2 separate regions of the Homo sapiens genome follow, and region 1 is linked to region 2. The links are contacts of gene promoters, found by promoter capture Hi-C in blood cells and fetal thymus (Javierre and others, 2016). All regions are on one chromosome and are shown on one strand. Each heading gives the region's core, a stretch centred on a gene start or on the middle of the fragment in contact. The rest is flanking DNA. Distances are from core to core; before and after follow the strand shown.

What was found. Contacts are between HindIII fragments. The CHiCAGO score rates a contact against its expected background, and 5 or more counts as called.
Region 1: a fragment that was not itself captured here is called in contact with the fragment with the promoter of GPR151 in region 2 in 1 of 17 cell types (monocytes); the score reaches 5.3 in monocytes.

What each region holds. Positions count from the first base shown.
Region 1 is chr5:146,246,927-146,250,576 of GRCh38, forward strand. The region is part of intron 8 of RBM27-POU4F3 (RBM27-POU4F3 readthrough); the gene reads left to right. All of the region lies in intron 8 of RBM27 (RNA binding motif protein 27), which reads left to right. Among named protein-coding and RNA genes, the nearest start is that of RBM27-POU4F3, 45 kb to the left of the region's middle. The HindIII fragment of the contact is 5,614 bases long and covers 1-3,650 here.
Region 2 is chr5:146,514,232-146,518,056 of GRCh38, forward strand. GPR151 (G protein-coupled receptor 151) reads right to left here and starts at 1,959. Exons shown (of 1, transcript NM_194251.3): 1 at 1-1,959. The coding sequence starts at 1,882. The coding sequence ends at 623. The HindIII fragment of the contact is 3,538 bases long and covers 1-2,470 here.

The sequences.
Region 1 (3,650 bases), core at 680-3,179, 270 kb before region 2:
AATCTTGGCTCACTGCAGTCTTGACCTCCTGGGCTCAAGCAGGCCTCCTGTCTCAGCCTCATGAGTAGCTGGGAGCACAGATGCGTGCCACCATACCTGGCTGATTTTTAAATTTTTTGTAGAGATGAGGGCTCCCCATGTTGCCCAGGCTGGTCTCAAACTCCTGGGCTCAAGCAGTCCTCCAGCCTCAGCCTCTCAAAGTGCTGGGATTACAGATGTGAGCCATCACACCTGGCCTTAGTTTTTATTTTTGTTTTCTTTTTTATTGCTCCTCAAAATTCAGCTTAATGACATGATTGTTTTAGAATAAGTCCCAAATATAGTAGCATTTCATCTGTAAAAACTTATGTATCTTTGAAGATAAGAATTAAACATACATACACACAAAATCCTACATACACACAGTACTATTATCACAGTCCCCCCCAAAATTTGTAACAGTTTACTATTCCTTGTGAAATATCCAGTTAGTTTTCATATTTCTCAATTGTATCATAAATGCCCTTTTGTACCTGGTTTATTTGACGCTATATCCAAACAGGGTTATACATTACGTTTAGTTGATATCTTTCTTAAGTCTTTATAGAAATATCCTTTACTTCTTTTTTTTTCTCCCTTGGCGTTTATTTGTTGAAGAAATAGATCATTTGTCCTAAAGAATTTTCTCACATTCTAGACTTGGCAGATTGATCTTCTGGTGTCATCTAACACATTCCTCTATCCCCTGTATTACCTGTAAATTTGAAGTTAGAGCTAGGTATTTGATAAAATTCAATTTTTTTCTTTTTTTGGCAAGAACATTTTATAGATGGCGTTATGTACTTCCTACACAGTACATTATAATGCTCATGATGTCTGGTTGTCTCCTTTCTGTGTTATAAATATTGATTAGTGTGTAAAGGTGTTTTCATCCTGATCCATTCATTTTAAAACTTGCTTGATGGTTTCAACAGCCATTTTTGATCATTGCCTGGATTTGCTGTTGTATGTGAAACTCTAAATCTATAGTTTCTTCTACATTTATTGCTAGCATTCCATATAGTTGACTATAACAACCATTTGGTTAACCTGAAATGCAGTTTTTACAGAAGAGACATGATATATGTGTATTTTCTTTCATTTATCAATTTTAAGAATGAGTTGATTCCCTAGTTTTTTCCAAAGGGAACTCCTGTTTTTTTTTTAAGTATCATTATGAACTCATGAATTTTTAACATTTGATATGTTTCACTCCATTATAGTCTTTTTTGATGTTCAGATTGTCTCATCTTTAATCAATAGGAGCCTCTTCATGTTGGCTTCTGCTAGTTTTTTTTTTTTTTTTTAATTTTTGACATGCCAGTTTTTGATAACTCTCTTGCTTCTGGAAGGACAAGGTATACTAAGGTGTACCAGGCTCATCTTATAAATTTTCTGCCCTGACCTAGAATTAGCCCTTTGTCTAAAGAACTCTGTTGCTTTAGAAGTAGTATTTAGAGACTCAGTAGGAATTGTTTAAGAAAGTCAGGCTACATTTGGATTAATTGCCATCTTTTTGAGGTATTTGTTTTTTATTTTGAGGCAGAGGCTTTCTCTGTTACCCAGGCTGGAGTGCAGTGGTGCAGTCTCGGCTCATTGCAACCTCTGCCTCCTGGGTTCAAGTGATTCTTGTGCCTCAGCCTCCAGAGTAGCTGAGATTACAGACATGCACCACTACGCCTGGCTAATTTTTGTAATTTTAGTAGAGACGGGGTTTCACCCTATTGCCCAGCCTGGTCTCAAATTCCTGAGCTCAAGGGATCCACCCGCCTTGGCCTCCCAAAGTGCTGTAATCACAGGTGTGAGCCATCGTGCTCGGCCTTTCTGTATGTTCTTTGTCAGTAGTTTTAAAAACAGACATTGGGCAAAGTAGCCTTTTGGTTTCCAGTTTACTTTGAGACAGCTATTATTAATTAGACATACTTAATTAGATAGTATACTTAGTACATCAAGTGATGTATCATACATTTAAAGTAGTCATATGGACTAAGATTGTACTTCCCATTTTTCTATATATGTATGTATTTCTATTTTTTAATTAATTTTTTTTCTTTTAAAGACAGCATCTCACCCTGTCACCTAAGCTGGAGTACAGTGGCACAATCGTGGCTCACTGCAGCTTTGACCTTCTGGCTCAAGTGATCCTCCTGCCCTAGCCTTCCAAATAGCTAGGACTACAGCTGTGCGCCACCATGCATGGCTAATTTTTAAAATATTTAGTAGAGACAGAGTCTCGGTATGTTACTCAGGCTGGTCTCAAACTCCTGAGCTCAAGTAATCCTCACACCTTGGCCTCCCAAATTGTTGGGTTTATGGATGTGAGCTACTGCACCTGGCCCCATTTTTCTCTTTAACATACTACTACATTCTGCTGATAGGTCACTCTTCACAAGTAATTCCCTGCCATTGATTGTGTGCTTACAACTATTTGTTCCCCTCATTGAGACTATGTTAAATTGGGCTGGGCACGGTGGCTCACGCCTGTAATTCCAGAAGTTTGGGAGGCCGAGGTGGGTGGATCACCTGAGGTCAGGAGTTTGAGACCAGCCTGGGCAACATGGTGAAACCCCGTCCCTACTAAAAATGCAAAAAATTAGCTGGGCGTGGTGGTGGGCACCAGAAATCCCAGCTACTAGGGAGGCTGAGGCAGGAGAATTGCTTGAACCTGGGAGGCAGAGGTCGCCGTGAGCCCAGATCATGCTACTGCAGCTCCAGCCTGGGCGACAGAGTGAGACTCTCAAAAAAAAAAAAAAAAAAGAAAAAGTAAAAAAAAAAGAAAAAAAGAAAATATGTTATATTGTTTTTGCAGTGTAATAATTAGCTGATTCTTTTTAAATGTACTTTTTTTTCCCCATCAACTTTTATTTTAAGTTCCAGGGTACATATGTAGGATGTACAGGTTTTTTACGTAGGTAAATGTGTGCCATGGTGGTTTGCTGCACAGATCAACCTACCACCTAGGTATTAAGCCCAACATCCATTAGAAATGTAAATTTTAAAAGGGTTAATGCTAAGTGCACAGTTATACAGTATGATTTGTTACTTCCTCTTTTGCTTCTTATATACGAAGAAAAGGGTAGTGAAGTTTAGCATCTCCATATTCCCTTTAGGGACTTACTGTGAAACCAAGTGGTTGCTTTGTAGCCTGTCCTATTAAGGTGCATTTAAAATCTTTAGGAATTTTACAGCTTTTAAGGACATTTCACCAGGTATAAAAAAAATTCAAGGCTGGGCGCTGGGTCCGGTGGCACTTTGGGAGGCCGAGACGGGCAGATCACGAGGTCAGGGGATTGAGACCATCCTGGCTAACACGGTGAAACCCCGTCTCTACTAAAAATACAAAAAAATTAGCCAGGCATGGTGGTGGGCGCCTGTAGTCCCAGCTACTCGGGAGGCTGAGGCAGGAGAATGGCGTGAACCCGGGAGACGGAGCTTGCAGTGAGCACCACTGCACTCCAGCCTGGGTGACAGAGCAAGACTCCGTCTCAAAAAAAAAAAAAAAAAATCCACTTTATTTTGTCTTGTGTCACATAGTAAATGTCTGATGTTGGACATATATAATAACTAAATCATATAAATATGTCTCAAATGGGGTTGTCGGTGAAAAAGATACTGTTAAATGGACACCCAAA
Region 2 (3,825 bases), core at 709-3,208:
CCATGGCTTGAAATGAGTCCAGAATTGGAATAAGGTGCTGTTTCTTTTTCTTTGACCTTCAGTCATGAACATTATGATACGGACTTTTCATCAAGTAAATTAACACTTATTAAGTAAATGAAGAACGCATTAAAATTTATCATTAATGTGTTAAAAATCTCAAGTGAAAGTAGATTTTGAGCTTTGGTTATGTGAAATACAATTTAGTAGGTAAAATTAGGACTAGCAGGTCCTGGGTGAAACTGAAGGTAAAGGGGCTCAGCTTTGACAGAACCTCTACTGCAGGCTCCAGCCGGTCCACTACAGGGCTGGTCCTAGGGGGTACCCAGTAAAACCACTGTGAACAAATGACAGAATAGCCAGGCTGTCTAATCACTTTGACAGCAACATCTTTACACAACACTTAAATTGTTTGGGAAGCCAAGTTCTAATTCTGAAACAATTATTACTTCTAACATGGTTCTCTACTTACCACATTGCACATTTGGAAAGTGTAGATTGTGAAATATTTTTATAATTCCTAATGGTAATAATTATATCAGTTTGTAAAGTCAGCAATATTGATAAGCAGCAGTACAAGTAAATACAATAATCACAGTTTGTTTTGCTTTGAAACTTAAATCTATTTAACACCTTCCCCTGTCTCTTGATCTTCATGTTCCCAGGGGATAGGGTCATTGTCCTGTACAGAAGGGACTGTGTCCCTCTCATGCCAAAACTGCTCTACGTCAGGAAGGATGGGAATCTCTGCCTTCTCAGTTTTCCCTTTGCCAGAGGAGGGAGAGCTGGGTTTCTCTTTTTCTGGTATGGATGCTGGGGATTCTGGAGATGGAACCTTGTCAGGAAGACCCTCTGAGTTGCCAGCTGGTGTTTCCTGAGACTCTGAGACAGTTGGAGGTTTTTTGGTTATCATCCATTTCCATACACCTTTCAAGCCTTCCCTGAACTCTTCCGACATCACAAGAAAAATGAGAGGATTTGCTGAAGAGATGGAAAACATCAAGACTTGAGACAGGGCTATGAAACCTTGTGGTGGGGCCGGGCCTGCAGCCTTCAGATGCCATACCCACAGCCAAGCTACCCATTCGGGGAGCCACAAGAGAGCAGAGATGATGGCAATGCTCAGCAGCATCACTGTGACTTGCTTTGAGCGTATCTGGTTTCTAAGATTTTGAGTCTTAGTTCCTCGTTTTTTACATTGGTCATAAGCTCTCCAGAAATAAAAGCTGGCAAAAAATAATGGAAGGCCAAATGCCAGGAGTGGGTAGAGCTTACCAAACATCGACATAAACTCTTCAGCCACAGCTGGTACATCCACGAGGCACATTTCCACACCTTCATGATGCCTGATGGTGCTAAAGAACCATTCCGGCAGGGGTAACAGGCTAGCCACAGTCCAGATGGCCACCAGCACTGACCAGATGGTGTAGTTGTGGATACTCACTTGCTTGGCTGGGTCACTTGCATACATGAAGCATACTTTGGCCACCACAACGATTGTCAGGCTCTTGGCTGCCATGCATGTGTGGATAAACCAGTCAGAGGACTTGCAGACAAACCAGCCTAGATCCCAAACACTTTTGGAGTACGCCGTAGCTCGGATAGGTGCAGAAAACAGCAGGAGGGAGAGATCAGCCAGGCTGAGATTCAGAATCAGGGAGTGGATCATGGATGGCTTTCCTTTCCAAGCATTGTGAAGGAGGATGCCAATCACACACAGGTTTCCCACGAAGCCCACCAGGCAGACAGCCACCAAGAGAGCCGGGATGATGGTTCTCCAGTCCTGGGAATCAGAGGGCAGGTACCCTCCGGCAAAGTGGAGGTGAGCAAAGGACACATTCATGCTGCTGGAGTTAGAGTCTGCAAAGGCAGCTGCCAGCATCACTCTTCACAGCTTCTTACAGAAGTTAGATTCTTATTTAGGTTTGTCTTTCTGCCTGGGCTCTTTTGCATAGGAAATAAGTACTCTGTCGTCAGTGTCAAATGACACTTCTGGATCCTCCCCTTGCTTATTTCCTGAGAGCAGAATGTGGAAGGAGGCTGGCTGTTAAGCTCTTCTCTGCTGCATACAATATACTTGTGACTGTACCGACTGTCAGATAGCAGGAGCACATGGCTGCTGCTCATTAGCAAGTCTAATACCAAATCGTCAGCCCTGTGGAGTAATACAAATATACCCATAAATGATGAATGAAGAGAACATACATGTAAGTGGCATGTGTTCCTTGGGGGGTCACTAGAGCCAGTCAAGGCAATTATTTTCAACCAGCTCTTCCTAAAATCTTGACTGCTGTCTGTAATTTAGTGAACACTACATCTGAACCAAGTTCTTTGAACTTCACCTGATGGCCGGATCCAGTGGGTCTGGAGTAGGGCCCAAGAAATCATTTCTAACAAGTTCCCATGAGACTCTGATGCTGCAGGTTGGGAGACCACACTTTGAGAACCACTGTTTTAAACTGAGAACTAAAGCTTCCCCTACCCACTCTGCAGAGATGAGCTTCCTCTTCTTTTCCCCAACCCTTACAACCACCTCAGTTCCATCAACAGCTGGCTGAGTTCAAACACAGCTGGATAATGAAAACAAGTTAGAAGTCCTATTAAAAAAATCTAATTATGGATGACTCTCAGTTTATTCTATTACGAGTTTTTAGAAGCAATTTTACAGCTCCAAATTAGAACTGCTTTACATACTAATAAGACTTTTCAACAAGTGATGGTGATGAAGGCAACTGCATGATGAATTAAGCTGCTTTTCAGAGAGCATTCCTAGAGGATTTACCAAGACAAGAGAAATGAAAGAAAAATCAATATCTATGTGGAAGGCATTTAAGAGATTTTTTTAAATTATATTTTAAAGTTGGTAAAGATTTTGTGCTGGGCACACTGGCTCATGCCTGTAATCCCAGAATTTGGGGAGGTGGAGGCGGGAGGATTGCTTAAGGCCAGAAGTTCGAGACCAGCCTGGGCAACAAAGTGAGACCCCTGCCCCCACCTCTACCAAACAAACAAGAAAAAAAAAAAAAAGAAAAAAAAAAAAGTCAGCCATGATGGTGTACACCTGTAGTCCTAGCTACTTAAGAGACTGAGGTGAGAGGGTTGCTTAAGCCCAGGAGTTCGAGGTTGCAGTGAGCTATGACTGTGCTGCTGCACTCCAACCTGAGTGACAGAGTGATCCTCTGTCTCTAGAAATAAAAAAATTCTCAGATAAGATGATTTGGTAGAACTAGCCCTGAAATTTTAAAATAAGCAATGGATACTCTGGGGGGATTAGAGGAGCTCAAAATGTTCAGAGAATGGGGTTTGTGGGGTTGATATGAAGATACATGCTACATTGAGTGTGGCTAGTCAGAAAAGCTAAAGCATGATATACAGGAGAGTATGCTGCTGCATTCAGATCTCTGGATTCTGGTACTGTGCTTTCACGTTTTTCGCAAGTAAAGAAGGGTCTGACGTTTTAAAATTCTTCAGTGTCCTAGAAAATAAATAAGTAGTGATCAGTATAGCTATTGGGACAGTGGTCAGTGGTGCTGGGTTCCTTTGTTTCCATTTCTATTTCCTTTTGCTTTCCTTCCTTTTACCTCTGGGAAGTAGTTGTTCCTATAGAACAGTAAATTGGGGCAACACCTTATTCCAGCAAGGCACAGTAACTCCCAGTAACTACTTAAGGATGAAATATCCTTGAGTCTCAACAAGCATCACTTTTGGGTGTGAAGAGGCCCGCAACGTCTTACAGGGAAGAAAATGGGGGAGGGAGCAGAGTGATGTTTTGCAGATTGTAGACTACAAGGAAGGTAGTTCACTTGATGTATGTGGAAGAGATTC